Linked DNA regions of Homo sapiens: region 2 is linked to region 1. Evidence: promoter capture Hi-C in human tissues and cell types (Jung and others, 2019). All regions are on one chromosome and are shown on one strand. Each heading gives the region's core, a stretch centred on a gene start or on the middle of the fragment in contact. The rest is flanking DNA. Distances are from core to core; before and after follow the strand shown.

Region 1 (3,179 bases), core at 401-2,900:
AGGGAAACTGCTCTCCAGTTCTCAGGATATTTATGCTATGTTCTCCCACCTCTTATGTCTATATTTTTTGTGGCTTCTTCCCTCTGCCTCAGATACCCCTTGGTAGTTCTACTGTTCTAAATCCTACCCCTATCCTATCCCTTCACTGCATCTCCAAGGCCATTTTCTCCACAAAGCTTTTCTTTAACACATGGGGCTGGTAGGTAAGCCATGAACATTTGTGGAACAAGGTAATCCTCCAAACAAGGGTGATTTTTCTTTCACTGAACCCTTCCCTCCCTTTGTGCTTCTTTTTGGAGCCTCACACTCTTCTGAATTTGTTGAATCCCCAACCAGCTGGAAATTCCCTAAGGCCCGAAACTGTTTCTGGCCTAGGCTGTGCTGATCTTCCTGGGACTAAGGGGTTTCCTGGGTCACAGATCTTCTGTGCTAAAACCAGGAAAGCCTCTGGTGACCCAGCATGTGTTGATCTCCCTAGTCTTGCCTGTCTTTGATTCCATGGATTATTAACAGAAACTATAATGTTGGGTTAATGTGTTGGCTTGGGCATGGCCTCCGAAACATGTTTTTTACATGTCTGCCACCAGCAGGCTCTAGATCCAGGAATGAGGCTTTTCCACTAAGGGAAAACTCCACGTGATCTAGGAAGAAAGTGAGGATATCCAACCAGATGATAAATTTCCTATCTGAAAGAGAAGGTCAACCCTGAAATAAGGAGGCTGAAGACCCTTAGAGAAGCCACAGAAGAGACTGGAAGAAGAGGGGTAGAGTTGCTTTTTTAATGGGGCTTCCAGCTCCTACTTTTCTTCCTGTCTGTAAGTCTCTGAGCTTCTGTTCCAGCTCTGTAAGGTTGGGGACGAGAATGCTCTCCCCACTGGACTGTTGAGAGTTCAATGAGGGGAAATGTGTGCATATACCAGGCCCCATGCTGGGTGCCCAGAGACGCTGCGCCTTCCTGGCATGCTTCTCTTCCCCATCGCTCAGCACCGCGTCCCTCACTCCCTCCACTCCCGATTCTCACTTCCTACTCACTGGCTTCTTCCTTCCCATCTTCCTCCAAACTTCCCATTTTCCACTATGTCTCTCTCACCGTATCTTTTTCACTTAAACAAAAATGGAATTCATAAAAACAGAGGCCAAAAGTCAGGATAAACCTGGAAAAATCACCAAGTACGCAAAGTTTTTCTTGCAAGGTTTGGTTTTTTCAAATGCCTTCTTTGTTTTCCTTGCCCATATCCTTCTTCGGAGAGTCAGGATTTGGGGTTTGCAGAGCTGTGTGGCAGTGGAATGTGGAATGTTCTCCTGAATCTCAGTCCCATGAAGAAAAGAGGCAAAAGTCCTGACATCTTTCCTGAGGATTGTCTGATTTAAAAGAGCTGATTCTCCCCAGGCAAATGACTTACCTTTGTTGTGCTGGGACAAGCTGAACAGGCAAGGAATAAACCTCCCTAGAACACACTGATTAGATTAGCCAGTGAGAACCACTGAAGACGCAGACATTAGATTAAAAAACAGAAAAATGAATGTTACTTTTACAGTGGCTATGAATAGACAAAGACTTTTTGGTTTGAAAATAGTTGGTGAGGCAATAGAGGAGGGGCTATGTTAATAGCAGAGATAGAAAAAACGAGAGGTGGATGGTTCCAACTGCAAGGTCCACCCTAAAGGAATTGGAGTCAGGGCCCAGGAGCCACAGGCCACTGCACTGGGGTAAGTAGAGTGGATTTTACATAAATAAAGTTACAGAGTGGTTGTAGGTTCTGGTTTGGAGATGTGAGTGAACCAACTGAATAGAATAGGCAGATTCCCCAGCCCACCAAGAGTCAGATGAGAATTTTATTGCTTTTTGCTAAAGGCCTGTACAAGACTTAGAGCAAAGATAAGGAGTAACCTGATTGTTGAAACTAATCTATAAGTATTCCAACATAGCAAAGGACAAGTAACGGAATGACGAGGTTTTCCTGTAGTAGTGTTGCGATTTTGTTCTGCTGTGTCCCCCTACTCCAGTTTCCTCTGTGAGGGGAGCGTGTAGTGTGTGCATATCTGTGGAATGTCAGACTTCTAAAGTCAGGGGCTGAGACCTATATCTAGTTAGACCTCTGTGCATATTCTTGAGCCATGGGAGTCTCAGTGGTTGATAGTACTTCACACTTCTTCCAGTTCAATAAGGGTTACCTATGGTGTCTCCTCTGAGTCTCCTAGGAGTCCAGAAAACATGAGACTTGTATAAGAATCCACACTTCAACTAAGCTTTCTGGCCCAAAGAAGGCATTGTTACCAAGGATCTGTTTCTTGAGGTCTTTAGGGAGTGAGAGGGAAGGAACGCATGAGGAACCAGAGCTAGTCCCCATCTCTCTCCCTAGAAGTGACAGACTGCATAGCTCTTATGTATCAGGAGTCCTGGAGATCAGCTGGCTTTCCTTAAAAAAGGGTCATCCAGCCGTGATGAAATCCTGACTTAGAAACCCAGTGCCCTTAGCTTTGTGGGCTTCTGTCCCTGAGAAATGGTGTTTTACCCTCCCTCCAAGCAGGCATCCCAGGATTTGGAATTCAGCTGTGAGCTCATGAGCTGATGGATGTTTCCAGGAGTACCCTGAAGACCACCCAGGTATGCTCTCCCCACCTCCTTTATTTTGGATGGACCAGTCTAAGGAGAGTCATCTTTTCCCACACCATTGGTGGCACTCAGTGAGTGGCTTGTTGCTTGACTGAATGCCTGCCCACACCCTCTCCAGTCAAGTTTATCTTGAGTAACTAAACACTTAGCAATGGAGACACTCATACATCTCCACTGCACTAGAAGTAGGGATGGTGGCCATGCCAACAAAGGAGATAACTTTAGCACAAAGGATGTCACAAGAAACAGATAGTAGAGTGTGTTCTCCAGTGTTATCATTTCCCAAACCAGAATCAACTGGTCTTGGGTTTCCTTCCCTCATCCTTCATCTGTAGAAAACTTTGTTTCTTGAGCTACTTCAGATCTACTTCCCTATCTTAAGAGGTGGGCTATGTGCTTCTTCTGCTAATTTATTATCTCAGAAGTACATAATTTGAGCAATTTTATATAGTTTTGAGGACAGGAGCCCTGTAAGAGTCTCTTACTCAGAAATGGATTCAGCTTGGTTTGAGGTTTAATAGGTCATTGCAATGCTCCCTTCTGGTATCACAGGACATAAGCT
Region 2 (3,179 bases), core at 337-2,836, 650 kb after region 1:
TCTTTTGCAGGCATCACTTGGACTGGTTTTCTATATTTTGGTATTGATCAGGTTATTAATTGAAACAGTTAAGGCCAGGCATGGTGGCTCACGCCTGTAATCCCAGAACTTTGGGAGACCGAGGCTGGTGGATCACTTGAGGCAAGGAGGTTCGAGACCAGCCTGGCCAACATAGCAAAATCTAGTCTCTACTAAAAATTCAAAAATCAGCTGGATGCGGTGGTGCATGCCTAGAGTCCCAGCTACTTGGGTGGCTGAGGCAGGAGAATTGCTTGAACCTTGGAGGTGGAGGCTGTAGTGAGCCAAGATAAGGCCACTGCACTCCAACCTAGGCAACAGAGTGAGACTGCCTCAGAAAAAAAAAAAAAAAGGAAAAGTTAAAGTGTTGCTTTTAGTGAGTGCAGGAAAACAAGTAGCAATGGTGTTCAGAATATCAAGGATAGCTTTCTATCCTTCCCTTGGAATTTTGGGGTGACTCTCATTGGCAACATGGAGAGGCATTGGCATTAGCGGAATTGTTTCCTTATTTTTTTGGCAATAAAAACAAACCCAATAAGCCACAAACTCTGGTTCTGTGCTAGAGCATATGCTCAAGCTAAAGCCATCCACTGATTATCGTCCCATGGATTTTTCTGTAGGGAAAAAGAAAGAATTAGGGCAACAGGAAATGCGGAGAAAAGAAAAAATGTAAGGCTTTCATGATGATACAGAAGTCTTGATCTGTGATCTTGGGAAAGCTGTCCACAGCTAGAATGCCCGCTGCTCTGGAGAGATATTTCCTTAGACAGCTTTACCTTAAAGTCTCCAGCAGGTGTACAGTTCCAGGAGTCTGAAGAGGCCCTTCTGAGTTGTGAGGTGTGGACCCAAGTTTCAAGGCCCTGAAGCTTCACTGCAGTGTAGGTGTTGAGAAGATCTCAGCACGGTCCCTTCCAAAGAGTTGTCAAGAGCAGCCTTTCTCTGATGTCATTTCCAGAAGACACAATCTCCAGGTTCTAGACTGTGGAAGGTTTGATTATCCTCAGTTGGTGGATCTTGAAAAGCTTCCTTTATCTGGTGAAAGTACACTTTGGTATAATGGCCTTGCAGTACTTACTCATATCAGAATTTAGGAGACAGAAAGATGCATGAGGTTTCACTATTGGGGCATAGGCCTTCTAGTGACTATTTCATAAGGGATCCACTTCTGTTTTTTAGTGAGAGTGGATCTGATTGTCATTAAGTCCAATGATAGTACCTTTGGCCAAGGCAACCCAACTGATTCAGTTAACTTTGCCAATTTCAGTTTTAATATGCCATTTGTTCTTTCAACCTTTTCAGAAGACTGAGGGCGATAGGGACAATGGTAGTGCCATTGTGTCCATAACACCTTGTTTAACTGCTTTATAACCTGCCTAATAAAATGAATTCCCCTATTGCTGGGGATTTTTCCAGGGATGCTCCATAAAGAAAACACATTTTCTAATAATTTCTTAGCTACTGTCACAGCATCAGCTTTCCTACACAGGAAGGCCTCTACCCAACCAGAAAACATGGAAACTATTACAAGAACATACTGAGACCCCCATTGAAGGTGGCAACTGAATGAAGTCTATCTATAATTGTTCAAATGATCCATTAGGTGGTGAAAATACAATACACCACCTGAATCTTTTGTTTTTCCAGGACTATGGGTTTGACAAGCCAACATTGGTTATAAAATATTCTAGCAGGCTGGGTGCAGTGGATAATGCCTGTAAGCCTAGCATATTGGGAGGCCGAGGCAGGTGGATCACAAGGTCAGGATATCCAGACTATCCTAGCTAACATGGTGAAACCCCATCTCTACTAAAAATAAAAAAAAATTAGTCGGGCATGGTGGCACACACCTGTAGTCCCAGCTACTCGGGAGGCTGATGCAGGAGAATCACTTGAACCAGGGAGGTGGAGTGTGCAGTGAGTTGAGATCGCGCCCTTGCACTCCAGCCTGGGTGACAGAGTGAGACTCCGTCTCAAAATATATATACATATATATATATATATATATTCTAGCAATTTTGGAACAATCATCCCACAAGTATTTTTTCACAATTTGGACGTATTTTTCTGTTCCATGATGAGTTGTGGAGTACAGAGCTTTTGAAAATAGAAGCTTCAAAGACTCAGGAAAGACCAGACAGCCATCTAGGCCCTCTGTGAGTCTGCACTTAACATTGAATTTATATCCTTTTAGATACCAGTTTTGTTTTTCCAAATGAGGTGCATTGCACTGTTTATTAAATAGGTCATTGTAAGGTAGTTGGATTGGATTAATCTTATGAAGTTCATTCAGGTTGCATATCTGAACAGTTTCAGTACTAGCTGATTTAGCATAAATATCTGCTAAGCATTCCCTTGATATTCAGGTTCAGTTCTGCAGGTATGAGCTTCGATCACTAACAGCAAACTAGGAGTTTATCTAACTGGAGTCCATTTTTGATGGTGATCCCACTAGAAGTGAGAAACCCTTAGAGTTTCCCTATCATGCCAAAATCATGTACTACTCCTAAAGCGTATCTACTATCTGTCTAAATACTTACTGATTTGTCTTTAGCTATACGACAAGCTTGGGTGAGGGCAAAAATCTTCAAGAGTTAAGCTGACTTATAGAGCTTAGACTAATAGAGCTGACTAATAGAGGAAGGGGTCCCTTCTCTATTAACTCATTTTGGTAACAGCATATCCTAGCTGATATTTTCCTTCTGAGCTTTTGGCATAGGACCCATCAACAAAAGTATTAACTCAGGATTGTCCAAAGGACTAACTTGTAAATTAACATGAGGGGCCACTATTTCTGATGCTACACTTATGCAATTGTGGTCTTCACCATCATCAGGCAGCAGTAATACAGTGGCATGGTTAAGTAAATTGCAGTGTTTTAGAGAGAGATTAGAAGGAGACAGAGTATTTCATGTTAGTCTACTTACTAAAAAATGCTGGGTTTGGGTGGAATTTAGCATGTGGGACTTCCAAATTAAATTCATTTCCTAAAACCAGATCAGCTGAAGCTTCTTTCATCCTGGTTGCTGCTGCTACTGCTTTTAAATAGTTAGGATATACCTTAGCTACTGGGTCTAATTGCAGGCTATAATATGCAATGGGCCTATGTTTCTCCCCATGTTCCTGGGTAAGAACTCCTAAATGCCTGATTATTACTTTCATGA

Evidence for each region. Contacts are between HindIII fragments. The study calls those that stand out against the background at their distance.
Region 2: a contact is called between a fragment that was not itself captured here and the fragment with the promoter of SLC4A5 in region 1, in 1 of the 25 tissues and cell types used here (spleen).

Annotation. Positions count from the first base shown.
Region 1 is chr2:74,341,887-74,345,065 of GRCh38, reverse strand. SLC4A5 (solute carrier family 4 member 5) reads left to right here and starts at 1,650. Exons shown (of 31, transcript NM_133478.3): 1 at 1,650-1,710; 2 at 2,532-2,608. The HindIII fragment of the contact is 6,725 bases long and covers 1-2,918 here.
Region 2 is chr2:73,692,588-73,695,766 of GRCh38, reverse strand. LOC112268418 (a long non-coding RNA gene) reads right to left here and starts at 1,902. Exons shown (of 2, transcript XR_007087079.1): 1 at 1,866-1,902; 2 at 1-1,050. The HindIII fragment of the contact is 3,400 bases long and covers 1-3,179 here.